Regions from separate parts of the Homo sapiens genome. Here regions 1, 2 and 3 are each linked to region 4. Evidence: promoter capture Hi-C in 16 types of primary human blood cells and fetal thymus (Javierre and others, 2016). All regions are on one chromosome and are shown on one strand. The core of a region is centred on a gene start or on the middle of the fragment in contact, and the rest is flanking DNA. Distances in the headings are between cores, read along the strand shown. Region 1 overlaps FAM210A (family with sequence similarity 210 member A). Region 2 overlaps VAPA (VAMP associated protein A). Region 3 holds the start of SEH1L (SEH1 like nucleoporin). Region 4 holds the start of CHMP1B (charged multivesicular body protein 1B).

Evidence for each region. Contacts are between HindIII fragments. The CHiCAGO score rates a contact against its expected background, and 5 or more counts as called.
Region 1: a fragment that was not itself captured here is called in contact with the fragment with the promoter of CHMP1B in region 4 in 1 of 17 cell types (naive CD4 T cells); the score reaches 5.4 in naive CD4 T cells.
Region 2: a contact is called between a fragment that was not itself captured here and the fragment with the promoter of CHMP1B in region 4, in 2 of 17 cell types (non-activated CD4 T cells and naive CD4 T cells). The highest score is 6.6, in non-activated CD4 T cells.
Region 3: a fragment that was not itself captured here is called in contact with the fragment with the promoter of CHMP1B in region 4 in 1 of 17 cell types (non-activated CD4 T cells); the score reaches 5.2 in non-activated CD4 T cells.

What each region holds. Positions count from the first base shown.
Region 1 is chr18:13,716,698-13,724,379 of GRCh38, forward strand. The region is part of intron 1 of FAM210A (family with sequence similarity 210 member A); the gene reads right to left. Among named protein-coding and RNA genes, the nearest start is that of FAM210A, 6.0 kb to the right of the region's middle. The HindIII fragment of the contact is 1,840 bases long and covers 5,389-7,228 here.
Region 2 is chr18:9,916,548-9,924,191 of GRCh38, forward strand. All of the region lies in intron 1 of VAPA (VAMP associated protein A), which reads left to right. It also overlaps the pseudogene RNA5SP450. Among named protein-coding and RNA genes, the nearest start is that of VAPA, 6.4 kb to the left of the region's middle. The HindIII fragment of the contact is 5,213 bases long and covers 1-4,427 here.
Region 3 is chr18:12,943,193-12,950,586 of GRCh38, forward strand. SEH1L (SEH1 like nucleoporin) reads left to right here and starts at 4,819. Exons shown (of 9, transcript NM_001013437.2): 1 at 4,819-5,040. The coding sequence starts at 4,930. RefSeq lists silencers at 4,517-4,966, 5,007-5,356, 5,367-5,466 and an enhancer at 5,398-5,999. The HindIII fragment of the contact is 1,374 bases long and covers 1,449-2,822 here.
Region 4 is chr18:11,845,468-11,853,138 of GRCh38, forward strand. CHMP1B (charged multivesicular body protein 1B) reads left to right here and starts at 5,946. Exons shown (of 1, transcript NM_020412.5): 1 at 5,946-7,671. The coding sequence starts at 6,045. The coding sequence ends at 6,644. All of the region lies in intron 5 of GNAL (G protein subunit alpha L), which reads left to right. RefSeq lists enhancers at 5,799-6,038, 6,307-6,356 and a silencer at 6,363-6,657. The HindIII fragment of the contact is 8,099 bases long and covers 1-7,671 here.

The DNA of each region.
Region 1 (7,682 bases), core at 5,059-7,558, 1.9 Mb after region 4:
GAGATCTGATGGTTTTAAAAATGGTACTCTCCCCTGTGCCCTCTCCCTGCCTCCTGTTGCTGCCTTGTGAAGAAGGTGCCTGCTTCCCCTTTGCCTTCCACTATGATTGGAAGTTTCCTGAGGCCTCTCCAGCCATGCTGAACTGTGAGTCAATTAAACCTCTTTTGTTTATAAATTACCCAGTCTCAGGTAGTATTTTTACAGCAGTGTGAGAATGGACTAACACAGGGAGCCCGCCTAAGGACAAAGCTGACATGGACAAGGCAGAGCGGGAGCTCTGAACTGAGGCACTGGAGTGTGCTCTGTTTGCGGACTTCTTGTTACTATGTCCCTCTTTATTGTTAATGCCAACTTGAATCCAGTTTCTGTTACTTGCAGCTGAAAGCAGCTTACTGATGAAGCAAGGCTGGGGTGGATAGAGAGCATCCAATCCTCTTAAGGCTCTCCAGAATGCAGGAAATACCATCTGCCCTTTCTTACATTATATGTTAATCCCCCCAAGCAATGTTTACTATATGAAGTCTTTCATACTTGAACTGATAAAGGATCATTTTGAACTAGAGATTAGTGCCCGAGATTAGTGCCACCTGTCACCTACATTCAAGTCTAAGTTCTTTGTTTGTTTTTTAGAGACAGAGTGTCACTCTGTTGCCCAGGCTAGTCTCGAACTCCTGGGCTCAAGTGATCTTCCCACCCTAGCCTCCCAAAGTGCTGGGATTACAGGTGTGACCCACTGTGCCCAGCCCAAGTCTAAGTTTTGAACTTCACCACTGCACCGCTAACTACAAAGCAGGGTTTGCAGAATTACTCGAATTCTAAAGCACTTTGGACTTACGTTGGTCAGCTGCATGACAGACTGTGAAAAGAAAGGAAAAATACAGAATGTTTAGAAATCTACTATCAAAAGTCTGCCAAAAAAATAAAGTACAGAGAAGTGAATAAGAGGAAGATACATTTTGAATTATGGATTAGAGAGCAAAAAGCATACTCCAGTGAGTCATTTGGTAACATAAAGGTTAATCAACTTGCATGAAAACTGCAAGGGCCCAATGCACCAGAATGTCAGGTTTAAAAAGCAGTCTAACAGGCTCGAGAAAAGACTTATGGTATAGTAGACTAAATGGTAGAAAAGATGGAAAGGACTTCATCTTAGCAGACTGGAGACAGAGTTTTCTGCTGGCCTCAAGGAAACAAGGTACCGTATGATGAACTGCCTACGGACAGGGCCGCATACGGGGAACAGCCTCTAGTCCCTGAGGGAAGCCACCAGTCAACAGGAAGAAGACAGCGCCCTCACTCATATAGGCACAAAAGATGAACTCTGCCTACAACCTCAATGAGTTTGCAAACAGATTCTTCCACAGTTGAACCTCCAGATGAGAATGCAGCCTGCTTGACACTTTGAGATGCTAAGCAGCAAACCAGCTAAGATGTGCCCATACTCCTGACCCAGAAAAACTGTGAGACAATAAACCTGTGTTGTTTTAAGTTGCTAAATGTGGGGGTAATTTGTTACACAGCAACAGAAAATACAAGCCTACTCTCCTTAAGAAACCTTCCCACTGCATGAGTAAGGATTATTTTTACCTTCTCAAAGTCTTTGTTACAGGGACTACAAAAATGGAAGGCCACACAGAACCTGAGTACAACTGTATAAAAGCAGCAACCTTAGGTTTAGTCATAGTTGTCTGCATTAGAACTACAGAATGTTAAGAGTTGGAAGGAAACTGAGAGGCCCCTTAGTATCATCCTTTATGTTTACAGATAAAGAATGCAAGGACATGTAATAGTTCATAACTTGTTCCTGATCACATAGCTGATTAAAGGCCAAAAAAAAAAGAAAAAAGAACTGCTAATCTAGTGAATTTCCCACATCTTCACAAATTGCTCATATGTATAAATTGTGTCTTTTCCCTGAAAATAAAGGATTGAGAGCCAAACTATATAAATTTCATTTCTATCTTCTATCATGAAAATCAGTTTTAACATAAATTTATTGTTACTAGTTAACTAAAACATGCTTAGCAATAGGAATTTACTTGATGAATAAGGACTATGTTTGTTAAACCAAAAAAAGACATATGAGAAATTATACATATATTTTACACCAAGTAAATCGCAATAGAACCTGTTTCAGCTTGGCTTTGGTGAAAAATACTAGTAACCTTCTCTGTGGGGTTAACTAGTTTTGTCAGTGTTTACTGTATCAAGCATATTTCAGAAAATGTCATTTGATCATCAGAGTACCAGAAGCCATTGTTGCAATAAAGAGCTCTTGTATTCTGGGTCCAATTTTAAAATATCTTTTTAAAAACTTGCATTTACAGTGATGAAGATGGCAAGAAAAGTAAAATAAAAATTTGCATTTAGAACTTGACATAGGTCTGCTTTATTTTATAAAGTGTGCCACACAAATAAAATTTTTCTTAACATTATATATGACATTCATTTGGCAAACACTACATTGCAAACCCATCACTGTTTATCTAATTCCTCTAATTTTAAGAAATGAGTCAAATTACAATGCAGCTTAACTAGAACAAGAATTGCAGTATTTCAGATAGCAAGGAAGAGTTACTATAATTCATGCTTACATTAAAAATCAAGAAATCCAAATAAAATACCACGTTTAATTCAATTTATCACGTCCAAGAAGTTACAAAGGCAATGTAGAAGAAGTAAGTAAAAATGGGGAAGCCCTAATTTTTAAGTCTGCCTTGAAAACAATTTTTTCTTATCAATGAGACTTTCTAATAGGACTCATCTTGCCATTGGCACCCACAAAATCTAACCACCCACCTCCACTTCTCCGGGAGGATCCCTTCCTAATGTCTGATGCCTCTTCCCTCACCTCCATTCTTTGCCCACTGCTGCACATGCTTAAAGCCCAGCCACCCTTTCACCCACAGAGGTCATAGACCACTGCTACTATGGTTAATTCTCAGAAGTAATAAACTCAGAACCTGAAAGCACATAATGCCTACAAGACTGTTCACTATTTCAAACTTCTGCTCTGGTTTACATGAATTAAAAAAAAAAAAAATCACTCTATTTTTTCTGCTGTACCAAGGCAAAAAAATTCTACAATCACATTTAAAGGCATGGACTAATGACTTCACAAGACATTGCAGTAGCAGTTTCAGTTGTGTTAAGAGAAGCTAAAAATTAGCAGGTTCTGTGCTAAGCACTGTATCATCTCATTTATTCTATAAAATCGCTCCATGAGGAAATCAAAACACAAAGTTTGGCCACTTACTCAAGGATGACATGCTTAGTAAATATAACATAACCAGGATTTGAACACATGCCATCTGCTTGTGCTCTTAACTGCTGAAATATTCTAGTCATTTTTCTAGTCAGGTTGCATAACTTGGTGGCCCACGGTTAAGCGTAGAGTTTCTATTAAGCCCAGTAGCAAGCCCAAAAGCTGTTTCTTAAAAGAGCAGTTACCTGCAAAGGATGGAAAGGCTTTGCTCCAAAATCCTAAGGTTCTACACTGTATCTCCTATAGGGCCTGCAAAAGGTTCCTAACAGCATTTCAATCTGCCACTGACATTTCAAGCACCAGAAGATCTGCTGGGTCATATGGCCTGAGTGGCAGAGCAGTTTGCACAGCAGCCTGTACCTGTTGTAGAGGCGCCTTTTGTTCTGGGATCCACTCAAAACTAGCAGTATTTTAGGTCACTCAGTAAACAACCTGAAGTAGCACACCCAAATGAGGAATTTGTCATCTCCAAAATCCAAAGAGGCCCACTAAACCTTGCTTCTCTTTTTGTTATAGGTGGGAACATGCCCTACACTACTCCAGTGGACCCCTAGAAATTTCACAGGTGGAAGGCCCCTGAATATTTGTTGGATTTCCCACCCTCTGACATGCAAATGTCATACCAGTAAGTCTAGAGTAGTTGTTTCTTCTTGCCCACCAGGTCCAATCAGCATAATGTCATCAATGTGATGGGCCAGTATGATGTTTTGTGGAAGGGAAGCACAATCAGGGTCTCTATTTGTTTGCTACAGCTGCTGTAATAGAGAACCACAAACTGAGGAGCTTACAAAACAGAAATGTACTGTCTCCAGCTCTGGGGTTAGAAGTCCAAGATCAAGGTGTCAGTAGGGTTTGTTCCTTCAAAGGGGGTGAAGAAGAATCTGTTTCATGCCTACCCCCTTGCTCCTGATGGTTTGCTGGAAATGTGTGACATTTCTTGGTGTTCCTCTACTTCAGTTTCATATGGCATTCTCCCTGTGTGAATGTCTGTGTTCAAATTCCTCCTGTTTATAAGGACACCAGTTGTGTTGGATTAGGGGCCCAGCCTACTCCAGTATGACCTCATCTTATCTAATTACATTTTTAACTACCCTATTCCCAAATAAGGTCATACCCTGAGGTACTAAGGGCTAGGAATCCAATACATAAATTTTTAGAAGACACAATTCAACTCATAACAAGATCACAGAGATCTTGTTATGACATAGTGTTGGAAAGTTGACATTCCCGAGGTAGGACAGTGAAGGTGTATTTTTGGCTTTGTTAGTTGAAAGAAAACTGCTTTTGGTGATCTTTACTAACAGATACTAAGACAAAGCACTCAGCAGATCAATAACTGCATGCCAGTTACTAGGGGATAGGTTCTCAAGTAATGAAATGACATCTGGAACAGCAGCTGCAATTAGTCACTACTCAGTTAAGTTTATGATAATCCACTGTCATTTTCCAAGATCAATCTGTTTTCTGCACAGGCCAAACAGGAGGGTTGAATGCGAATATGTCAGGAATCATCACCCCTGCATCCTTAAGTGCACTCATCTCTGCAATTCCTCCTGGAATGCGGTATTGCTTTTGGCTTACTATTATTCCAGGAAGAGGCAGCTCTAGTGGCTTCTACTTGGCCTTTCCTACCACGATCGCCCTCACTCCACAAGTCGGGGAACCAGTGTGGGGATTCTGCCAGTTGCTGAGTATGTCTATACCAGTTATGCATCCTGGAACTGGCAAAGTAACCATAGGATGAATATGGGGACCCACTGTGAGGAGAACCTGGGTTAAACTTCCATTGACCACCTAACCTCAACAAGTCCCTACTCTGAATGGCGGGCCAAAATGACACTTTGAGTGTCCTGGAATTAGTGTCAGTTCAGACTTAAGAGTTCAGTAATCTGTGAGAAGTCTAATTATTTCCTCTTCTCCAGTGCACACTTACCCTGATAAGCCATAGGTCCCTTTGGGAAACCTGAGAAAAAAATTAACGGTATAAATTCTTAGCAGCGCAATGGGGTCCTTCCTCAAAAGGATCCAGCCTCCCCTCAGTCAGGGGGTTCTGAGTCTGTAAAATGACTCAAATCTGGGAACTGATTGAGGGACCATGACTCTTTCTTTGGTAATTAAAGTAAAGCTTCCATTCACTTGACCTAGAACTCTTCTGCTTATAGAGATCAAGTCAGAATTCAGTAGACTGCCCAACGAGTTCTCTTCTAGGGACACCATGACCACCTACCCAATTAGGACCCCCAAGTCAGGCTGTTCAGATTGTTGCTTTGACTCCGCTGTCCCCCATGATGGCAACACACCTACTTACTCTTTGGTGATCACATAGCCCCTGCCATCCTAGATCCAACCATCCCTGCTGCAGCTAAGGACCCCCAGTCAGTGGCAACAGCTCCCACTGCAATCTCTGACCTGAAGAGAAAAGCAACCCCAGAGCTCTTCACGGATTCCTGAGGAAAACCGGCAATGTCTTGCAAGGTAACTACCTCAAGGGAGGTCATTACAGGTTCTTCAGGCAAAGCAGAGTTAACCTCCTCAGAGGTGGAAGAACTGCTTCTACTGGCAAAAAAGAGTGAGTCAAATTTAGGAGTTTAACATCCCCAGCTTCATCAGGATGTTCCCATATGGCCCTATTCCAAATGTGCAGATCCCATTCCTTCCCAATCAATGCCCTCATTTTAATAGCAGACCAAGGTGAGAAGGGAATTCAGTTAGCACTGTAATTCAGCCACCTACAGGATAAGACTCTGGATTTGGTTTTCACCAACCTCAGCTCTGTAGCTACAAGAGATACGGGTTTCTTTAGGGCAGACACAGAAACTTTTCAGGTCACTTATGTGGAGCTTCAATCGGGAATTTGAAGCCTTAAGCTCCCCTTTTCTTTCCTTTCTTTTTTTTTTTTTTGAGACAGTCTCACTCTGTCACTCAGGTTGGAGTGCAGTGGTGCAATCTCGGCTCACTGCAACCTCCGCCTCCTGGGTTCAAGCGATTCTCCTGCCTCAGCCTCCTGAGTAGCTGGGATCATCCTTTTCTTTTCTCACTTTACCCAGTACAGTTAAAAGCAACCAGCCTATCTTATTGTACTCATTAATTCGATTAAAATGTTCTAAGGTATCAAATACCTGATCATTCTGAATCTTGTCTATAAGCATGAGTGGGAGTATCTAATAGTGATCTTTTGCATATCTTTGTTGCCATATCACACCAGGGACTATCAGTGCCCTCTTTTCTACAGGGAATACTCATTACTGCCTTTGAATCTGATCAGTTTGGAAAACCAATTCCAGAAACACTATAATCAATTCAGAAAACTCATCCTTAAGATTCTGCTCACTAGAAGCACTCTCAGCACCCAAATTTGAATCAGTCAGGGCTCTACAGAGATACAGAACTGATAGGAAAAAATATATAGATGTAGATAAAAACATAAATATCTTCATCTACATATAGACAGATACAGAGATATTGGTATTTTAAGGAACTGGCTCACACAACTGTAGGGGATAGCAACTTCAAAATGTGTAGGGTAGATCTACAGACAGGAAACTTAGGCAGGAATTGATGCTGCAGTCTTGAGGAAAATACTGTCTTCTTCAGGACACTTCAGTTTTGGCTTTTTTAGCCTTCAATTGATTGAATGAGGTCCACCCACATTATTTAGGGTAATATCCTTTAGTTTAGGTCAACTGATTATAGATGTTAACCACGTCTTCAGAATACCATCATAGCATCAACCAAACTAGTATCTGATTAAATAACTAGGTATTATAGCCTAGCTAAGCTGACATAATAAAACTAATCATCACACACAGTATTACTCAACAAAATCTTATTTTCAACTGAAGGAAAAACCTTTTAAACAATAATATTTTATTTGTTCCAGAAAGACAATGAAATTTCAGTAGGAACACTTTCCTGAGTGGAACAGAGGAAAAGTCCTTCATCCAAAACTATTTGGAGGAACAAAGCTTCCATGAACCACCTCTCTTCACAGAACACTATCTTAGGAAACTATAACATTGTTTCTACATTTTTAAAACAATCTCTATGTTTCAAAAATATGATCTTCAACTCTACAACAGAAATCACACTTTAAAATTATACCTCTGAGAGAAGTACTCTCACTTTCTTACAAATGGGTTGAAATAAATCCTGCAGGTCCTTTCCTTGTCTTGGTGGAGCTCACATTCCAGCAAGATAACATCCTTATCTAACTATTTTCTCTCGGGACATCATAACCCAGGCATTAAGAAGTATCAAAACACTTTCTGAAAAATCTACTATTTGCTAGGCAACGTCCAGTTCTGAGTATGATCTTCTAGCCAGCACTGTTTCATTATTAGCAGAGTCTGGTCAATCAGCCAGACTGCCTGGGTCCAAATCTTGATCCCACTACTTAACAAGCTGCATGATCTTGGCC
Region 2 (7,644 bases), core at 571-3,070, 1.9 Mb before region 4:
GTTTAAAGATGGAGATGATGGGGAGGATTGGGAGGTGACATTTGGTGTTTGATTCCTTAATATTATCGTTTTAGTCAAAGGTAAATTGTTGGCTTTGATGGAAACCTTTGTGTATTTAAATGCACAGTTCAACACTGAGGAGATTCATTTAGAATGTACAGTCTACTTGGGCTTAGTTTATGATAGAAAAAAATCATTTAACTGACTTACCCTAAGTCATTCAAAACTTTCTAAGTGAAGGACTTTTAGAAGACAGTTTTGCAAAATTCTTTGTCATCTTCTAGTAGGTTTATTTTAGTTATTGATTCTGAGTTTGAGATGGTTTCTCCAGGAGTGACTCAGGTAATCATTCTGAGATTGGATGGTTTTTCTTTTATACACCTAACAAGCATCTTGAAGATGAATTAACAGTATGTTGCACAATTTTGCAAAAGCAGACACCAACTATTTCAGTACATTTTTCTGTATACCTCAGTATTTAAAAAAAAGTTTGTTTTATACAGTCGTTAACATATAAAAGTGCATTTACGATGTAATGAATTCTGAAGTAGATCACTTGTGTTAGTAAAGAAAAAGAAGTAGACGCTGCTTTACTTCAAATTCTGTTTAAACCTTGGAAGTAATTTTACCTAGATTTCAGATTTGAAACTTGGTATTTTATGTGAAAGATTTTTTTTGTCTTTAAAATTTTTTACATGATAAAATTCCATTTATAATGTATTACACATTTTATTTTTCTACCTATTAGCAGTTTTTTTAAATTTTTTTATTTTTTGAGACGGAGTCTTGCTCTGTTGCAGTGGCTCGATCTCGGCTCATTGCAGTCTCTGCCTCCCGGGTTCAAGCAATTCTCCTGCCTCAGTCTCCAGAGTAGCTGGAACTACAGGCATGCACTACCATGCCCAGCTAATTTTGAATTTTTTGTAGAGACGGGATTTTGCCAGGCTGGCCTCGAACTTCTGACCTCAGGTGATCCGCCTGCCTTGGCCTCCCAAAGTGCTGGGATTACAGGCGTGAGCCACCGCACCTGACCCCTATTAGCAGTTTTGTAGAAAAGTTTGAAGAAGAAAGTTTATAAAATGCTAAAATAAATTTCAAATATATTCTTAATGATCAGAGAGAGACGAAAATAAACCAAAATCCTTATGTTGAGAGTGGCCGATAACAATAAATCAACAAAGAAAATTAAGCTCTCTGAGGGATCGAGGGACGTATGGTGTTAACATCAGCTAGTGCATCTGCATAGAAGCAGCACGGGGCGGGGGGGAAATTAGAGAATACTCCTCTGGATGGATATTTAGCACATTTTTAGGTGTTTCCAGTCGGCTCTTCATGTTTCCCAGTGGCTATACAAAACGCCTGGGGCTCTAAAGACATGAATGTAATCTTTAATCATATATTACTCCATTCCTTAGTTTTTAGGTAACTCTCAATTGCTCACAGAATAAAAGTCAGATTTTTTTTTTTCAGTAAGACATACCATCTCTTCCATGATGTGCCTTCCTCTTGTAACACCTGTTAGTCTGTACACATCCATACTTTCTTCCCTGAGAAAGAAAAACCCTGCTCATACCCAAGGTTCTTTGTTCCTCTATTTTTGCTGGCTAAGGTAAAATTCCTTATGACTCAGACCATGTTCCATGAGATGTTTTCCTGCTGGTTTTCAATCACTGGCTGCATTGTTTTAACATATAAATACACCAGAGTCTTTGATTTTAAAAACAAATGAGCAGACATGTACTTCTTTGACCATAACTCTTTCTAGTATGTGTCTCTCCCTGTCCTTCATTTCCTTTGCATTCAGACTTTTTGGAAAAATAGTCCATATTCACTGTTTTTCCAGTTACTCACCTTTTATTCTCTCCTTAGTCCACGGTACTTTTATCCTCTCACTACTTATTGCTAACTTAATCATTTCCAGTTTTTATCTTACTTGACCTCCCCCTGGCTCTTGACAGTACCGACAGTTTCTCTAAAAAAAACCCTCAATTCTTCTGGCTTCTATAACAGCATTGTCTTCTAATTTTCTTATTTGCTCCATTTATTGTCTTATTTGTGGCATTTTCCTCAAATGCTCATGTTTCTGAGATTCTGATTTGGTTTCATTTATCTCACTCTGTGAACTTTCTTTGTTCATTTCATTGTTTTGAGGTTTTCTCTTTATCTTCCTTGCTCTCTGCAGGTATTGCTACACCCCCAAGTCTGTTTTAATTCACATTTTACCGTCAGTCAAGAGCACATACTCAAACAACTTATTCACTATTTAGATTTGAATATTGCACAGATATGATATTCTAAACTCAAAATATCTCAAAATTTTTACTACCCATGCCTACTCTTCTTCCCATATTTTTTATTTTTATTTTTGAGATGGGGTCTTGCTCAGTTGCTCAACCTGGAGTGCAGTGGCATGCACGTTCTTGGCTCACTGCAGCCGTGACCTCCTGGGCTCAAGTGATCCTCCTGAATAGCTAGGACTATAGGTGCATGCTACCATGCCCAGCTAATTTTTTACGTACATATGGGGGTGCCGCTGTGTTGCCCAGGCTGATCTCGAACTCCTGACCTTGCGTGATCCTCCTGCCTTGGCCTCCTAAAGTGCTGGGATTACAGGCCTGAGCCATTGCACTTGGCTTTATTTTTATTTTTTAGTGGCATCATGATTACTCACACCAGAAACAATATGCATATCTAATAATTAAAATCTGTGTTTCTATTTTTGACATAATCCCTTTGTCCACTTCAATGTGTTTCTACTTCCAAATTCATTTATTTTTAAAATTCATTCAATTATGGATCTAATTTGATTAGATTTGAGTATCTGCTACATGTCAGGTATGATGAATAAATATTGGAACTACAGTTGTGAGTGAAACACAAGCCATGTTTTCATGGGGCAGTTCTAACAAGAGAGATAGATACTAATAAAATAATCAGAAGAATAAAGTGTACCCCTGAAGAGCTATATAGTGCTACGAGAATGTAAAATAAGGGTCTTCGATCAGGCTGTCACAGTTGAACTAAGATTCCAACAATGAGTAAAAGTTATCCTGGTGAAGAAGAAAGGAAAATGCATGTTCAAATATCCGGTAGCAGGAGGGACTGTGAAACATTTACCATACTGAAAGAGGTCGGCGTGGCAGTGGTGAAAATAGTCAAGATGAATGTAGTGCTGGTTTAGTAGGTCAAGTTAGGAGTTTTGTTTTTATCCTGAGCCACTAGGGTTTTTAAGTGAGGGGAGGAGCAGTAAAGATGGAGGGAATCGAATAACATCACATTTGCATTTAAAAATAATTCTGGTAGCAATGTAAAATTATACTAGAGGGGAGAAAGAGATGAATTAGGCGGCTGCAGCAGTACTGGCAAGTGGTGACCCCTTGGACTGAGGTCATGGTATTGGAGGTGATGAAAAGTTAGGTTGAATCTGTGAGACTTGGTGGTCTCTATGTGCACTGAGAGAAAAGGGTATGAATGTCTGAGATTTCTGCTTATATAACTGGGGAAATGGTGGTGCTATTTGAGAAACGGTGGATGTCTGGATGAGGACGAAATGCATCTTATTTGGGGGTGTGTGAGAGAGATGGAGGAGGAGGACGTATGGTAGATATGTTTAGGTCTTTCAGGATATTAACATGAAGGTGGATTTGGTTAAATGGGTGTGTTACTTAAGAAAAGGTCTGGGCTTTGGATAATTTCCTTACTTCAGGTCCTTTTATATTTACTAGTCAGCAGACATCTCCTTTTCTTTTCTTTCTTTCTTTCATTTTTTTCTTGAGATGGAGTCTCGCTTTGTCACCCATGGTGGTGTGCAGTGGCGCTATCTCGGCTCACTGCAACCTCTGCCTCCCGAGTTCAAGCGATGCTCCTGCCTCAGCCTCCCAAGTAGCTGGGATTACAGGCGTGCACCACCATGCCTGGCTAATTTTTGTATTTTTAGTAGAGACGGGGTTTTGCCCTGTGGGCCAGGCTGGTCTCCCTGACCTCAAGTGATCCACCTGCCTCTGCCTCCCAAAGTGTTGGGATGACAGGCGTGAGCCACTGTGCCCAGCCTCCTTTATTGTCAGCTCTTTACCCTGTCCTCCACACTGCTGCTGGAACTACGCTTTGGAAAAAGGAGGCTGTTACTGTTAGTCCCTTGATTGAAGAACTCTAAATGTTTTCTTACTATGTACTTGAAAAATCCAAAATCCACTGCCTAACTCTCCAGCCTCAGTGTCTATTCTTTTTCTTCTGTCCATAACTTTGGCTATATGAAACCATTTTCCCAAACACTCCAGGCCACTGCAATGCTTTGCACAGGCTCTGCTTAGAATATTGTCCTCCCTCACGTCTGTCAGGCAGCCTCTTATTTCAAGAATCACTTCCTCTTGAGAAGTCGTTGATACTCTACCAGTCCAAGTTGGTCAGAGCCTTCATGCCACTGTTGAAGCTTGTGCTTACCTGTAATAACAGTACTTTCACATTAGATAGTAGTTAGGCTTACATATTCTCCCCTCCCAAACTATACTATGAACTCTGAGTATATACCTGTTAATGTTTGTAGTAACAAGTTCTGGCATCATAAAATGATTGCCCAGTAAGTGTTGATTGAATTAATAAGACTCAGATGATTTCTCCAGTAATTTTTATTTTTTGGTCTTGGATCTTGACTCAGTTGGAGTTTTCACCTGCTTTTGCAGGTAATAGTGCTTTCAAAATTTTGTACTTCCAGAAAAGGGGTGGTAGGCTATTTTGTAAAGAGCTGACTAACCCTAAAGGTAGGTTGTTTGATGTTTGTGTTTTTTTCATTTGTAAAGTAAGAGGTTAGGACTAGGTGATTTCTTGGGTGTTCTGTCTTTAAAAGTTTGTGTGAATATATGACAATTGAGTACAAAAAGAAAATGCTATTTTTCTGTGAAGCAGAAAAATGCATATAAAGAATAGGGAAAACTATACTTTTAATCCTTTAAAAAGATTTCATTGTGTATATTTGAGGTATACATATAACATGATGTTATGGGATACATATAGATAGTAAAATGGTTACTATAGTGAAGCAAATTGACATATGCATCATCTCAACATAGTTTCTTTTTATCTTACCTTTACTGACCATTTAGTGAAATCTTATTTGCCTTTCAGAGGTGGAAGTTGATACAGGATGGATCTTGCTCTCTTTTGATCATAAAGTTAGTTTTGGAAAAAAATTAAATGTGCGAGAGGACTGTTAACTTGCAAATGCTTGTTTACTGGTTTAATTCATTTTATAACTGAAATGTGACTCAAATTAGTTTTAAATTAGTAAGTTTTAAACGTTTGAAAACTTTCAAACATGAGCACCTTATAATATGAACCTCAGTATGCGTTAATTTAGTAAATTAAATTTAAATATAAATTTAATAATTGACATTTTACTATAATCATACGTGTTTATTTATATATTTTTGTTTGCCTCCATGTTTGTATTTTTTTGCAGCGGTCTCACTCTGACACCAGACTGAAGTGCAGTGGTGCTGTTATAGCTCACTGCAGCCTTGAACTCCAGGGCCCAAGCGATCCTTCTGAGTAACTAGGACTACAGGTGCATGCCACTGTGCCCAGCTAATTATTATATGTTTTATTTTTTGTAGAGACAGTCTTGCTATTTTGCCCAGCCAGATCTTGAACTCCTGGCCTCAAGCGATCCTCCTGCCTCAGCCTCCCAAAGTGCTGGAATTACAGGCATGAGCTACCATACCTGGCCTGCCTCAGTATTTTTAAAACAAATCCTGAATGATAGCATAACATTTCATCCCTAGATACTTGAGTTTGCATTTATAACCAAAAAAGGACATTTTCTTTGCATAATCATGATACTGTTAACACGTAATAACATTAACAGTAATTCTTTGATATCCTCTAATATTTAGTCTATTACAAAGAACAAAATCACACTTAAGAGTTTATTAATGAGCAATCTCAATGGCATAGGAAATCAGGTATACCTGGTCTCACAGGAAGAGGCTGTTTATAATCTAGATTCAAGGCCAGCCAATATATATGCTGGTGACTGACCAGTCAAAATTTTGATGGCTCACCTTGAAACACAACTATAAATAGATGGTTATAGGTTTCAGACCTTCAAGGTCATATGGACTGGGAGACAAAACAGTGGCTAATTTGGACCAGTGGCAAGCAGAAGCAACTAATTGAGAGAAAAAAGGCAGAGAAACGTAGGCAGAGAGGTCTTTTGATCCCAGGAATTAGTTTCTCTTGAATACAGCCTCTTCCTGTGATGCCAGTTATACTTCATTTCCTGTGCCATTGAATTGCTTACATCTTTATGATGAACTCTTCAGTATGGGTTTTTTTAATAATAAAATATTCTTTGCTTAAATGAGATTGAATTTGATATTTTCTGAAGCCATATTTGTAACACATTATTCTTTAACATTTCACTTTATAAAAAATAAATTCTGTAATCTGTTATACATATTTCACTTTGTAATTGTTATTCTGTAACACATATTTCACTTTATAAAAAGTCTAAACTAGTGTCTTCAATGCTTATAAAAGAAACCTCCGTATCATTTTTGCTGACTTATGCATCATTAATATACCATAGCATGCTTAGCTGCTTTTCTCTGGTGTTTGGATGTTCTTTATAACTAGTTATCACTAATGTTTGATACTGTTCTGAAAATTCAGATTTAAAGGAGTGAGAAGTTTAGTTACGTATCTTTTAGCTTTTTAAGGAAATGATTAGATTGAATTACCGTTAAAAAGTAGGGATGTTAATTAAAAAAGAATTGTTGCTATGAGAGGACTTTTAAACTTTTAGCATTTTAAGGAAATGATTAGATTGAATTACCGTTAAAAAGTAGGGATGTTAATTAAAAAAGAATTGTTGCTATGAGAGGACTTTTAAACGTATGTTTATAGTATAACTTGACAAATTTCTCATGGGCCTATGTTTTGACAGCTCTTTTGTAGCTGTATGTTTCATGTATGTGTGTATATGTGTGAAGTGTATATGAATATGTATATAATTTTAATTCTTGAATAATATGACATGGAGTGACTGTCATACTTTAAAGACATAGGGTGCCTTTAAATCATACAGTGTTTCCTGTTTAGTTTTTCCTGTGAAAAAATTTTACTTTTTAAAGCCTGTAGGGCCAGAATCTCTTGGTCTTGTTTTCTGAGTACTGTTCCCACTGAGAAAAACCTCACTAACAACAGATCCCCAAAAAATCTGTGGTTCTGAATTTTTTCAGTTTTTTCTTCCAGGATTTTACAAGTAAGAGGATTTATAAGCAAATTAAGCTACTATGGGTACATGTTTAAAAGTCCCTTGTTATATAAAATCAGTGCTAAATTAGAAAATGGAAAAAGTATAGATATTATAAAGCTGTCTATGGCCATACCACCCTGAACGCGCCCCATCTCGTCTGATCTCGGAAGCTAGCAGGGTCTGGTTAGTACTTGGATGGGAGATATTATAAAGCCAATAAAAATTACTCAATCTCACAAAATAACCTCTGTTAACATTTTGATAAACTTTTTATAGCTATGCTGTGTATAATTATATATTTGTATTTTGTATGTTTTTAGTTAAGATTATTGTGATCATTTTTTCATGTTATATTTTCCCCTAGCAAAAACTTTAGATCTAAATAATAAAAA
Region 3 (7,394 bases), core at 886-3,385, 1.1 Mb after region 4:
ATATATTAATACGACCCTTTCACGGAACACAACTGATTGCAGATGTTAATCCCATCTACAAGATACCTTTATAGCAACATCTAGACTAGTGTTTGAGCAAAGAACTGGGCTTCATAGCCTAACCATGGTGACACATAAAATTAATCATCACACCAACCTATGCTGTTAGGAAGGAGGTCGGTAGTTACTGCTTGGGGAGGGGTGTAAAGACCAGAAGGGACCACAGGAGAGCTTTAAGGGTGTGAGTCATGCTCCCTTTTTCGAGGTGATGATGGCTGCACAGATGTGTTCAGTTTGTGAAAATCCAGTGAGCTGTGTACACTTGTGATACGTGTACATTTTGGAATCTATATTATACTTCATTAAAAAGCAAAATGTTAAGGACAAAGGCAGTAAGACAAAAAGCAATGGAAATAAGAAAAAAAGCCTTACATCAGATATGGAGACTTTAGAAATTGCAAGACATTAACATATATAACTCTATATTAATAAGTTTAAATATTTCAGTGAAATGGCTGATTATTTATTTATTTGAGACAGTGTCTCACTCTGTCGCCCAGGCTGGAGTGCAGTGGCACGATTTCAGCTCACTGCAACCTCTGCCTCCTGGGCTCAAGTGATCCTCTTCCTGCCTCAGCCTCTTGAGTAGCTGAAATACAGGCGTGCACCACCACACCTGGCTAATTTGTTTTCTGTAGAGACGAGGGCTCACTATGTTGCCCAGGCTGGTCTTGAACTCCTGAGCTCAAGCAATGCTTCTACTTCGGCCTCACAAAGTGCTGAGATTACAGGCATGAGCCACCATGCCCAGCACAAAATGGCTGATTTTTTAAAGGAAGATATAAATGATCAAAATTGTCTTGACAAAAGGTAAAAAATCTGAAGAGGCCATGAATAAAATAATTTTAAAAGGTAGTTAAAATTAACTATACCTATCATCACCCAAGGCATGAGGCTGATAAAATTTTGTGAACGTCATCTACAAAATCTTCACGGAATCTTCTACAAAATCTTCATAGGAATCTTTCAGTTCCTATGCTATTTAAACTGGCGCAGAGCAGGAAAAAAAATGTGAAAGCTTCTTAACTCATTGTAGGTTATTTATTTATTTATATTTTTGAGATGGAGTCTCGCTCTGTTGCCCAGGCTGGAGTGCAGCGGTGCAATCTCAGCTTACTGCAACCTCTGCCTCCAGGGTTAGAGCGATTCTCCTGCCTCAGCCTCCTGAGTAGCTGAGATTACAGGCGCTCACCAACACGCCCAGCTAATTTTTGTATTTTTAGTAGAAACGGGGTTTCACCATGTTGGCCAGGCTGGTCTTGAACTCCTGACCTCAAGTGATCTGCCCGCCTCAGCCTCCCAAAATGTTGGGATTACAGGTGTGAGCTGCCACGCCCAGCCTTCACTGTAGGTCGTATTCTTTCCAGAATATGAACTGGAAACCTCCAAGCTTGTTTTTCCAGACTCTTATTAGCTCTCTATTTCTAGTTAGGTTCTGAATTGAGAGACAGTAGGGGATTCAGATGCAGGAGGAAGAAGACCTTTTCTCCAATTTGTGGAGGCAGCTCACATAGCTGAGTAGTGGTGGTGGTGGCAATGGGTGAGCCTGGCTTCCTGCTCGGGGGTGATGTGAACAGCAGCAGTAGCAGCAGCACTCAGCCCTAGCTCCAGCAGTACTAGCAGAGGCTCCAGGAACCTCAGCTGTTCAGAGCTTGTGGGCTCCCATGGCTGTTACTCTGTTGGACGCCTGCAGTGTAAGCTGGAGTATTGGCTCCTGGCTTTCTGCCTGCTGGTGGTAAAGGTGCCAATGTCAGCAGCCTCAGAGTCAATGATGGTAGCACTGGGTAAAACTATTTTCCCTTTCACGCTCCCAGCCCAGAGTTTCCCGTAGTTACTAGTCTCTGGGTAATCTCACATGTTCCCTTTTTGCTCTTAATTAACCCCTTGGATATATATGTAACCAGTTTCCTGTGTTAAATTCTCTCTCTCTTTTTTTTTTTTTTTTGAGATAGTGTCTCCCTGCGTTGCCCAGGATGGAGTCCTGTGGCACAATCTCGGTTCCACCACCACTCCTGGGGCATTTTTTTGTATTTTTATTTTGTATTTTTAGTAGAGAAGCGGGTCTCGCCACGTTGCCCAGGCTGGTCTTGAACTCCTGAGCTCAGATAATCTGCCCGTCTCGGCCTCCCAAAGTGCTGGATTACAGGGTAATTTAGCCACCAGGCCTGGCTGACACGACCACTTTGGAAGACAGTTTGTAAGTTTCTTATAAAACCAGGCCAGGCACAGTGGCTCATGCCTGTAATCCAAGCACTTTGGGAGGCCAAGGCAAGAGGATCGCTTGAGCCCAAGAGTTTGAGACCAGCCTGCTCAACATGGTGAAACCCCATCTCTGCAAAAAACAGAAAAATTAGCTGGGTGTGGTGGCACTGTGCCTGTAGTCCCAGCTGCTCGGGAGGCTGAGGTGGGAGGATCATCTGAACCCAGGGAATTTAAAGCTGCAGTGAGCCACGATTGTCTGCCATGACAGAGTGAGACCCTGTCTCAAAAAACAAAACAAAACCCCAAAAAACAAAACTAAACTTACTCTTACAATATGATCCAGCAATCATGCTTCTTGGTATCTACCCAAAGGAGTTGCGAACATGTCCACACAAAAACCTGTACACAGATGTTTGTAGGAGCTTTATTGATAATTGCCCAAACACAGAAACAACCAGAATGCCCTTTAGTTGGGGAATGAATAAACACTGTTACAGCCTGACAATGGAATATTATTCAGCACTAAAAAGAAATGAACTCTCAAGACAAGACATGGAGAAAGCTTAAATGCATATTACTATAAGGAAAGAAGCCAATCTGAAAAGGCTAGCCACTCCAAGATTCCCATTATATGCCATTCTGGAAAAGTCAAAACCATGCAGTCAGTGGAAAGATCAGCGGTTGCCAGGTGTTGTCGGAAGAAAGGGATGAACAGGAGCACTAAGGATTTTCAGGGCAGTCAAACTATTCCGCGTGATACTATAATGGTGGATCCATGTCATTATATATTTGCCAAAACCCACAGAATAAAACACCAAGAGTGAACCCTAATGCAAACTCTGAATTTTGGGTGATAATGATGTGTCAATGTAGGTTCACTGATCATAACAAAGGTACCACTTTGGTATGGGATGTTGACAGTGGAGGATGCTGTGCATGTGTGACAGTAGGGGTACATACGGGAACTCTATTTTCTGCTCAATTTTGCTGTGAACCTGAAAGTGTTCTAAAAACTAAAGTCTATTTTAAAAAATCCACTGTTTCACCTAATTCAACACTTCACTCCCACTCTGATAATCTCTGGCAACCAATGATCTGTTTACTGTCTGTATTTAAATTTAATTAAAACAATTTTTAAACTGTTTTGATATTTTTATAATAATCAATATATTTTGATTGGACTTTTATAGTGAGCACTTTCTTTGGAAATGAGTGTCTTTGACCTTCAAAAAAGTTATAGTTGTTATCAGTTATCATAAGAGGTGGGGCCCACCTCTTAAAGTAGCAATAAAATCTTATTTATGGTTGAAAAAGGTCAGGTCATTGCGCCACTTCTCTTTGCAGGTTTCTGTGCAATCCATCAGGGGACAGCTGGGACTAATCATTTAAAAAACTTTCCAGCCTGCTAATTTTACCATACCTCACATTTTTGTCATTCCTGGCCAAAATCCAAAGGGCAAGTCCCTTCTGCAGCCTCATTTTTTTTTTTTCTGTACTTTCGCTCCCCTGACGCAAGCTTCCACTGTCTCCCATCCTAACTTTACCACTACGCCCTCTAGAATGCCTTTTCCTGATAAGCAAAACCCCCCGAGTCGTTGGCTCCTCCACTTTCCGGTTTTGGCAGAATCCTTGATCTGAGCCAGGCCTCTTCCCAGGGGCTCTGGCCCTCTTCACTTCCTTTTCCCCGGAGGACTCTGGCTCCCGGGTAGCAAGCAGCCCACTTCCCCGGCCGCTTCCTTCCCCCGGGATGACACGTTTCTACAGGCGGACTCTTCTAATTCATACTATTTCCCTACCCCCGTGGTGGCTCCTAGCACCCCCAGGCCTGTTCTACCTGTAAAATCTTGACACATTTAAACTACTACTTCTGATCCTTTCCTCCCCGTCCAGCCTTCGCTCTTAGGCTGCCGAGCCTGGACTGCTTGTCATCCCCTCAGGCGTCTCCCCGGCCCTCCCTGCTCTTCAGCCGTCCCGACGGAGCGCGGCTCCTGACCAAACCCACGGTTCGTCTTCTCCACCTGCTCCGCGCGCCTCGCATGTGTCTGGGGGGAAACACATCCAAACGTCGACTTAAATGATTCAGGGCCGAGGACCGTGAGAGGCAGTCTTCACTTTTTCATCTTTCTTCATTTGCACAGTATACCAATAAGCTCTTACTACTTCTCAGCACAGGTAACTCGCCTTTTGCAGAGCACCCTCCGCCGCCGAACGGTCAGAGCCTGGAGGAACCCGCACCAGGATCGTAGGGCATGACGGGCCGGGGGCGGGACGAGGATTGACGAGCCGGGAACAGGGCGGGGCTTGAGGGGGCGGGAGGGTGGGGCGAGGCATGACGGCTCTGGTGGGAGGGTAGGCGGGGCTTGACGGGCCTGGGGGCGGGGCGGGGCTTGAGGGACCGGAAGGTGGGGCGAGTCATGACGGGCCGGGGCGTGGGCAGGGCTTGAGGGGCCAGGGGACTGTGTGGGGCCTGACGGGCCGGTGGGTGGGGCGGGGCTTGAAGGACCGGAGGGTGTGTGGGCGGGGCTTGATAGGCAGGGGCGGTGCGGGGGCGTGGGCAGCACAAGCCGTGCGCTCCCGGGCTGCGAGGTCTGGCTAGGCTACGGGCCACGCGCCGCCGCCGCTGCCGCCGCCACTGTCCTCTTCGGAGGCGCGGGCCCGACGGAAACCATGTTTGTGGCTCGCAGCATCGCGGCGGACCACAAGGATCTCATCCACGATGTCTCTTTCGACTTCCACGGGCGGCGGATGGCAACCTGCTCCAGCGATCAGAGCGTTAAGGTGCGCGCGGCGCTTGCGGGCGGGGCCGACCCCGGAAGGAAGGAAGGGGAGTGGGTGGGCGGCGCGGGGAACGGGGCTGTGTCTTGGTTCAGTGACGCCGCTGGAAGCTGTGGGGTGGCGGGCGAGCCCTGGCTGGACTGAGCGGAAGCCCTCCCCGCCCGCGTATTGTGGGGTCACGGCGGCCTCGCGGGCCGCCCTCCCGTGCGCCTGCGCAGCTGGTGCCACGTGCGCGCTCCCGCCCGCAGGGTACGCCGGGCCCTCTCCCAGGCCGCGCTGCCGGGGCTGCGGGCGGGAACCCAGGGGCATCCCACCGTCAGCCTCGGCGTCGTGGGTCTTGCCCGCGCTGTTCACCCGACGACCTGCAGTGGGACCTGGTGGGAGACTTTGCCTGGCTGGCGCTGCGTCGAGTTCTGTGCCCCGCCGGTGTTCTCTCACCAGGGCACATGGTTTTCTCCGTGGGTTCAGAGCAGAAGCTCACTTTGTTACGCCGAGGAAGAAAAATACAAACCATTTACATCCAATGATTTCCCTGCTTGCTGCCCAGGAATCGGAGGGTTTGTTTCTTGAAGTTCCCGTAAACGTCTGTAGACACTTCCGACAAGCAGAATTTCTTTTCTTTTTTTTTTTTTTTTTTTGAGACCGAGTCTCACTCTGTCACCCAGGCTGGAGTGCAATGGCACGATCTCGGCTCACTGCAACGTCCGCCTCCCGCTTTCAGGCGATTATCCTGCCCCAGCCTCCCAAGTAGCAGGGATTACAGGTGCACGCCACCACCCCCGGCTAATCTTTTTTTTTTTTTGTATTTTTTAGTAGAGACAGAGTTTCACCATGTGGGCCAGGCTGGTCTCGAACTCCTGACCTCGTGATCCACCCGCCTCGGCGCCTCGGCCTCCCAAAGTGCTGGGATTACAGGCGTGAGCCACCGCGCCCGGCCTACAAGCAGAATTTCTAATGTGGGGATGCTACATGAGATTTAGGAACCTCCCAGATGTGTTGCAGGATGAATGAAAGCTGGAGTGCGGATTATTTGGTTCTCGACAACTCCAGAGTAACTGGAAATCTGAAGGATAGTTTATCCTTTTTCACATTCGAGTTTGATACCAGTGATCTCTCAAAGATAAACTTTTTATAAATAGTGTTGCAATTTTTAAAAGATGTAGTTTCTTTTTTAAAACAAGTTTATTTTTGTTGTAATAAACTACGTTAACCGTTTTTTTTTTTTTTTTTTTTTTTTTTTTGAGACGGAGTCTTGCTCTGTCACCCAGGCTGGAGTGGGGTGGCGCAATCTTGGCTCACTGCAAGCTCCGCCTCCCGGGTTCACGCCATTCTCCTGCCTCAGCCTCCCAAGTAGCTGGGACTACAGGCGCCCGCCACCACGCCCGGCTAATTTTTTGTATTTTTTAGTAGAGACAGGGTTTCACCATGTTAGCCAGGATGGTCTCTATCTCCTGACCTCGTGATCCGCCCACCTCGGCCTCCCAAAGTGCTAGGATTACGGGCGTGAGCCACCGCGCCCGGCCCACGTTAACCGTTTTAAAGTGTAGAATTCAGTGGCATAGAGCACAGCATTCACATTTTTGTGCAGCGTCGCCCCTGCCCATCTCCAGAACCTTTTCATCATCCTAAACTGAAACTCTGTACCCAAGAGCACCCTGTTCCGCCACCCCATCCTCTGGTAACCTCTATTCTACTGCTTTCTATTAATTTGCATATTCTAGGTACCTCAGATAAATAGAATCATAGAATATTCGCCCTTTTATATTTGGTTTATTTCACTTAGTATAATTTTTTTTTTCTTTTTTCTTTTTCCTTTTTTTTTGAGGCAGAGTCTGGCTCTGTCACCCAGGCTGGAGTGCAGTGGTGCGATCTTGGCTTGTTGCAGCCTCAACATCCCAGGTTCAAGCCATCCTCCCACCTTAGCCTCTCCAGTAGCTGGGACTACGAGTGCACGCCACCACGCCTGGCCAATTAAAACATTTTTTTTGTAGAGGCAGGGTCTTGCTGCGTTGCCCAGGCTAGTCTCGAACTCCTGAGCTCAAGTGATCCTCTCACCTCAGCCTCCCAGAGTGCTGGGATTACAGGTGTGAGTCACCTTGCCCAGCCCTCTTAGGTCCATTTATTCCAGAGTACTTTTTTTTTAAAGGAGGAGCCATGTATTTATTTGTATATATTTTTAATTGAGCAAGTAATATATTTTTCTTTTTAGAAAGTGAAAAAATTATAGACTTATTGCTAATGTGTTAATATTTATTGATTTCCTCTGTTTTTCCTTTAACGTTTTAAGTTGTCATGGTAGAGTGTGTGTATATACGTATATGTCTTGTCAGAAATAGTGTTGTACTGAAATTTTTCAT
Region 4 (7,671 bases), core at 4,696-7,195:
TAACAAATAATAAGAACACAGATTGGAAAGAGGAATATATCGTGTGTTTCATAGACCTAACAATATTTCACGTGTTTGGTTCCCTGCCATATTGCTTGAGTTTGTACGTTAGTTTGTAGGAACCTGACCAAAGGAGTAGATTTTCCTCCTACAAAATGCTCTCCAACTAGAGGAGTCAGAGAGAAATGGGCCCAGTTGAGGCAGAGGTAGCTTGCGCCACTCCGGGTAACAGAGTGACACCCTGAAGGAAAGAAATAAAGGAAGGAAGGGAGGGAGGGAGAGAGGGAAGGAAGGAAGAGAAAAGAGAGAGAGAGAGAGAGAAAGAGAGAGGGAGGGAGAGGGGGAGAGAGACAGAGAGAGAAGGGGCCCAGTCAGCCTTCTCAGTTTTGCTGTGTCAGCTCTATATGGTCTTCACAATATTTGCAAATATCCAATACAAACTGCCAGGAAAACGCCACTTAAATAATACATTTTTTTCTCTTAGTAAGTCTTGTTTCAGGGATTTTTTAAGTTAAGCGGTTTTGAGTGGCCCTCTCTGGTGATCTGACCTGATGAGGGATTATTACCCACTGTTAGATCATAGGCCTTATTTTTTCCAGCTTTATAAATGAGGAAATTGAGGCCAGAAAAGAGAGGCATCCCGTACCAGCCTTAGAGGGACAGGTGTGTTGAGATTTCATTTTCAGCTTCTCAAAGTGGTAAGTTGTTCAGTGTAAAGAAGGAGGAGGAGAATCACTGTGTTGCTAAATGAGTGAATGCCAACTTCGACTAACATGGAAGTTAGGTTTCTCATAACAGTATTAACTCACCACATCACCAAGAGGAATAATAAACCGTGCATTTAAACTGCAGATGGAGGAATGCAGAATTCTGTTTACATGCTGCTGTTCTATTTCTTTCTCTTTCTTATTTTTATTTTTAAATCGACATCATTTTTTTATATATAAATATATAAATACATATATAAATATATAAATATAAATATATATATAAATATACACACACACACACACACACACACACACAGACTCACTCTGTCAGCCAGGCTGGAATACAGTGGCATGATTATAGCTCATTGTAGTCTCGAACTCCTGGACACAGAGATCCTCCCACCTCAGCATCCCAAGTAGCTGGGACTACAGGCACATGCTACCATGCCCAGCTAATTTTTATTTTTTATTTTTTGTAGAGACCGGGTCTTGCCATCTTGTCCAGGCTGTTGTTAACATATTTTGAGGGACAGTGACTTTGGTTTTGTTTTGTTGTTGTTGTTTTTGAGACAGGATCTTGTTCTGTCACCCCGAATGGAGTGCAGTGGGGCCATCATAGCCCACTGCAACCTCAAACTCCTGGGCCGCCTCATCCTCCCAAAGTGTTGTGATTACAGGCATCGGCCATCACACCCAGCCCTGGACAGTGACTTTGAAATTTCCCAAGGCTTGAGGAGTCTCAGCGTTTTTAATTCTAGCTGTGTTCCCAAATAAAAAGGTGATGCAGAGGAAAATATATATATACATACATTTAATACATGTGTAATAAATTAATATTATATATGTATGTAATGTATAATATATATATACATATATGTAATGTATTCCTCAAAATGGTCACCAAGTGAATATGTATCCAATGCCATTTCCTTTGGCTACATTCATATATTCCTACATTCAACAGAAATTTATTGGGTATCTGTTTTCCAGAGGTTGAATAGTACCAGGTATAGGTAGTCAACCAGAGGTCACCATGCCACACCTAATAGGAAAGCCTGCTGCTCAGCAAACACAAATATATGCAAAAAATGCAAACTGTGATAAGTAGGAGGAGCCCTTAGTTTGAGATATAACATTTCAAAATCACCAGAAACATACTGATGAGAATCCAGAAATAGTTTAACTCACAAGAGAAAGTTATTTTTCACATCTTTTATTTTCTTTTTTTTTTTTTTGAGTGACTTCAGACTTAGCAAATGATTCTTTTCCAGTGAAGTAAAACTGAATGTCCTGCTTAAATATTTTCATTTTAACCACTTGTATTATTTCAAAGTAAGGAAAGAAATCAGCCAGATGTGCCAAATGATAGCATATTTTTCTTCCCCATTTCATGATAAAAATAATTAACTGGTTTGACCCGCAGCTTTCTAGAAATGTCTGCACTTTAATCAAAAATTTCTTTTTTTTTCACTAAGAAAATTTGGCTATGGGACTTGCAAGGTTTCAATGTTAACGTGGTAGTTGCTAAACAATTCCAGTCATTATAAACTGTATGTTCTGTTTTCACATCTGTATTGGGTCCAAAACATTTTCACGTACAATTAGCATGGTTGTAGGACCAAAACCTCCTTTAATAATAATCCCAAAATAATCTTCCTTTTGCTAGATACACAAAAAGAGAAAGCATACCAAGCTGAAACAGACCCTGAAGGTTGTCAACCTCAATGGAATATAAAGAATGGAAAAAACTTAGAGCCAGGGTAGATGCAGATTCAGATACCACGGTGGTCAGAGATAATTCTTCCAAATCCAACTCGAATGACAAGGTAGATGGAGGTGCCAGTAGTAAATGGGAATGAGCAGATTTGGGGGAAAGGACTGAGTTCAGTCACTTTGAGGAGTTGCCAATCAGTCTTGGGCCACAGAGCGCCCAGCACCAAGGAGACAGCTGGGCATATGGGTTTGGAGCTCAGAAGCAAATCTCTCCGTGGAAATGTGAACATGAGAGCAGTTAGCTATGGATCCTATTGAACACCGTGGAAATGGCTGGGGTGTTGATAAGAGAAAGAAGAGGGCAGGGCTGGGGAACTGTCAGGGAGAGGAGGAGAACAGCCTTCTCTTCAGAATTCTAGTCAGCCCTGGTCTCTCTGGGAAGATGGCTTCTGGAACTCCACCTATACCTTCTCTCCAGCACAGAAAGTAGAGGTGTCATCATCCAAGGAATGTAGCTTCAGGTGATGGCAACTTCTTTTAGCAACCATACTTTTTCTTTTTTTTTCTTTTCTTTTTTTTTTTTTGAGAAGGAGTCTCTCTCTGTCACCCAGGCTGTAGTGCACTGGCGTGATCTCAGCTCACTGCAACCTCCACCTTTCCAGTTCAAGCGATTCTCCTGTCTCAGCCTTCCAAGTGGCTGGGATTACAGGCATGCACCACCACACCCAGCTAATTTTTGTATTTTTAGTAGAGACGGGCTTTCCCCATGTTGGCCAGGCTGGTCTTGAACCCCTGGCCTCAAGCGATCCACCCACCTCAGCCCCCCAAAGTGCTAGGATTACATTCCTGAGCCACCATGCCCAGTCAACAACCACACTTTATAAAGTTCATATTAACTTTGCAGTCAATGCAACTCTGTCTTCTCAAAAAAACAGCTGGAAAGTCAACTTCTTTCTTTAGGCTACATGATGATCATTATTTTATTCTTATTAATTCATGTTCATTGGATTCCCCATTGCCTTATTACTGGTCCCAATACATCCATGGAATCCGGTTTCTAACACTTACCTAATGTGTGGGTTCAGGCAAGTTTCTTAGCTCTCTGTGCTTCCTTTTCATTACCTGTGAACTGGAGACATTTATAGTATCTACTTCATAGGGTTTGCGAAGCTGAAATGAGTTAATTTATGTAAAGTGCCCAGAACAATGTCTGGTGCATAAGTACTTTATTAATGTTAGTTGTCATTATCATCATCATCTATCGGAGTCTCTCATGATTATATTCCAAACCATCTCACCTAGTCAGAATTTGTCATTAAGAAAACTATGGGCTGGGCACGGTGGCCCACGCCTATAATCCCAGCACTTTGGAATGCCAAGGTGGGCAGATCAACTGAGGTCAGGAGTTCGAGGCCAGCCTGACCAACATGGCGAAACCCCAGCTGTACTGAAAATACAAAAATTAGCCGGTAGTGCTGGCGTGTGCCTGTAATCTCAGCTACTCGGGAGACTGAGGCAGGAGAATCGCGTGAACCCAGAAGGGGGAGGCTGCAGTGAGCCAAGATCACACTACTGCACTCCAGCCTGAGTGACAAAGCAAGATTTCATCTCAAAAAAAAAAAAAAAAAAAAGAAAGAAAAGAAAAAAGAAAACTATGGAGCATGACATGGAAGCTGGATAAGAAACTTGTTTGCAAACTCCAAGAAAAACCAGGACCTAAAAGAAGGGAAGAGTGGAATGGAGGGTGAGCAGAGTAGGGGGCCTAAGCTCTCTATATCCACTTTGAACAGATTTCTTCCCCTTTTTTTTGGTTGTTTATATTCCATTTCTAGAAAAGTTTCATTTGGAAAAAGGGTTCTACTGCTTTGCGGGGCAAAAAGGAACCATAGCTAAGCTGCTAACTAGGGTAACATCCTATCCCCTCTGAAATACAATTAAATTCAGCAACGCCATCTGGATTCAGTGGCTGCTGTGTGCAGAGCGCCTGCTGGGCTCCATGGAGAGGGGAAGGAATCAGTGTCTGCATCCAAGTAGTTCACACTGTAACAGGTGACCTATACACACAGACCCCTTGCCAGGCAATGTGCCCTGTAGTATGGCCACACAGAGGAGGAGTCCTGGGGAGGCTCCATGGTGAAGGTGGCTTTTGAAGGACTGGCAGGGTGTCAATAGGCAGAGATGCATGGACACTAAAATCCAGGCAACAGGAACAGCATAGCCACAGGACCGGGCGTCAGTCACATTCTCCCCGCTGGCCGAATGACGCAAATAATGCTCAAATTCCATGCTGCGGTTTGCTTTGACTGGCGGAGGTGGAGGGGCGCGAAAGACGAGCCAGCATGCTGCACAGCAGGTTTAGCCTCCATGCCCGGGGTTTGGAGCAAGAGAGTGAAAACATCAGAGCTATGTCTTCAGAAGGTCTTGTGTTGTGAAACTGACTGGCAAGCTATCACAGGAAGCTAAGCGAGGTGGCAGGCTGCTAGATTAAAATGATCTCTAAACAGAATTCGCTCTCAGAGTTCATTTTCAGCCTACCTCATTAGGGCAGATTTGGTCTTCTCACATTGTTATTGCTGTATCGGAGGAATCTTTCTAAAGAGAAAAGTGACAGCACACATTGCTGCCATTTGAAAGCCAGCATTTTTAAAGGGCGTAATACATAGTGACAGTTTTGATGTATGCCCGTGGGTGTGGGTCCTGATATCTCAACATACTCTGCCTGCATAATTTAAAATGACAGTTTAGCCTGTCAAACTTAAATGTGAGTGAAGTTCCTTGGATATTTATAAAACATCAAAAAGACAGAATGGTGTCAGCAAAAGATGGGTCTTTTTATTACTAAACCACGGGACGATTTTTGGATAATTGCTGGCAACTCACCTAGAAGCTGAACTTCCAGACAAAGTATAAATTTGGTGGTGCCACAGTTTTGAAGATTATTTTCACTCAATGCAATAAAAGGATATTACAGAACTCTAGCACAAATTGTAGTCAAAGATGGAGACGCGTCAATGACCCGTTTGTTTTTAATGTGTTTTAATGTTTTTGTTTTTAATGTATCCATGGTTTCCAGTTCCCCTGAGAAAGTGGAAATTACCCATGCTAATAAAGCAAGCGTTAGTGCGAAGACCTAGCTGATGTTTGGCTGGTTTTTAGCCCGCTAGCCAGTCACCCTTTATAAAGCCTGCCAAGTTTGGAGCGTGGGTAATTTTACACGCGGGTCTCCACAGATCCTGTCTACTTCGGTAGATTTATTACTAGGAAAGTGCGTGGGGGCACTAATTTTTGTGAATTGACTAATGCGTTAGAATTTTAAAAACCGGGTAGAACGCAGCGCAGGAAGCGAGCGTTCCCCGCCGCAGCGCCGGAGCGTCCAGCCAGAATCCCCCTGCATGCGCAGCCCCTGGCGTCTTACGTCCCACAGGCCCCACCCCGGCGCCTTCCGTCCCGCAGGCTCCGCCTTTGGCGCTGGGCTCTGACGTCACCACCTGCGCCGCTCACAGTAGAAACAGGAAGTGGGACCAAAACAAAGGAGCGGCGGCCGGGAGCGGACTTACCTTACCTTCTCTGCCTTCGGCGCGCTTCTCAGCCGGGCCGCCGACCCAAAGGAGCCGTCCGACTATGTCTAACATGGAGAAACACCTGTTCAACCTGAAGTTCGCGGCCAAAGAACTGAGTAGGAGTGCCAAAAAATGCGATAAGGAGGAAAAGGCCGAAAAGGCCAAAATTAAAAAGGCCATTCAGAAGGGCAACATGGAAGTTGCGAGGATACACGCCGAAAATGCCATCCGCCAGAAGAACCAGGCGGTGAATTTCTTGAGAATGAGTGCGCGAGTCGATGCAGTGGCTGCCAGGGTCCAGACGGCGGTGACGATGGGCAAGGTGACCAAGTCGATGGCTGGTGTGGTTAAGTCGATGGATGCGACATTGAAGACCATGAATCTGGAGAAGATTTCTGCTTTGATGGACAAATTCGAGCACCAGTTTGAGACTCTGGACGTCCAGACGCAGCAAATGGAAGACACGATGAGCAGCACGACGACGCTCACCACTCCCCAGAACCAAGTGGATATGCTGCTCCAGGAAATGGCAGATGAGGCGGGCCTCGACCTCAACATGGAGCTGCCGCAGGGCCAGACCGGCTCCGTGGGCACGAGCGTGGCTTCGGCGGAGCAGGATGAACTGTCTCAGAGACTGGCCCGCCTTCGGGATCAAGTGTGACGGCAGAACCCGCTCTGAGGTTTCCTGGCCATAGCCACCCTTTGAAATGCTCTCTGTGTGTTAGAGAGATACTATACCCTAGAAACTCTGAACACGCCAGAATGCTGAAATGCCCTTCTACCTTTGGGTTTACAGCCCCCTCCACATAAATTAAGAAATTCAGTATTTCTGCACTCTTAGCTGGATTCTAAAGTTCTGTATAGCTCGTAATGATGGTATTTTTATAGCAGCCTTTTAACAGAACTAGTTAATTTCGTGTATATGAATCTTTCTCGAAGATCTGGTCAAAACTGTATTCAGTTTCCTGCCCAGAATGATCAGATTGAAGGTGGTTGGTTTTTATTATTATTTAGTGTGATTGATAGTATCTAGAATGGCAGGTGGTGCATAAAAGTTAAAGAGAGGGGAAAGATTACTTAGTTTGGTTATACAGTTATAAACACCATGCAGTGTATTCGGTGGACTGTGCTATTTCTGTTTATCCTTTGGGTTTTGGTTTTTGTTTTTTTTTTTTTTGCCTTCACAGTGAGACTGCAAATGATTGTTCTCATAACGTATATTATTAATAAATGTGGTCCTATAATTTATACTGAAATTACCTTAGGATATTTTTGCATAATACTCTCTTACTGCTTACATTCTATAAATTTTTCACGTGATAATTGTCTTTGCGTAACTGGGAAAAATGCCGAATAACTTCCTTTATTATCTGGAAAAATTAAATTTGTTCATTTATATTTTCTACTTACTAAATTGAGTTTTTAAAAAGACTTAGTGTGACATTTGACAGTGTCTTTCAAACGAACTTCTCTAACAAGTTTATAGTTATTTTCCTGTTTCAACACTATTAGAAGTCTTATAAATTATGCTAATTAGCATGGCAGTCATGTTACACACTCTTAACATTGCCAAAGAACTGTTGATTTCGTTTGAGAAAACCCTAGGACTGTGTGTGTGTAGGTTTTGTTTTGATTTTAACAACCAAAAATAGAAATAAAATTAGAACTGCGTTTTAAGTTCTAATTTG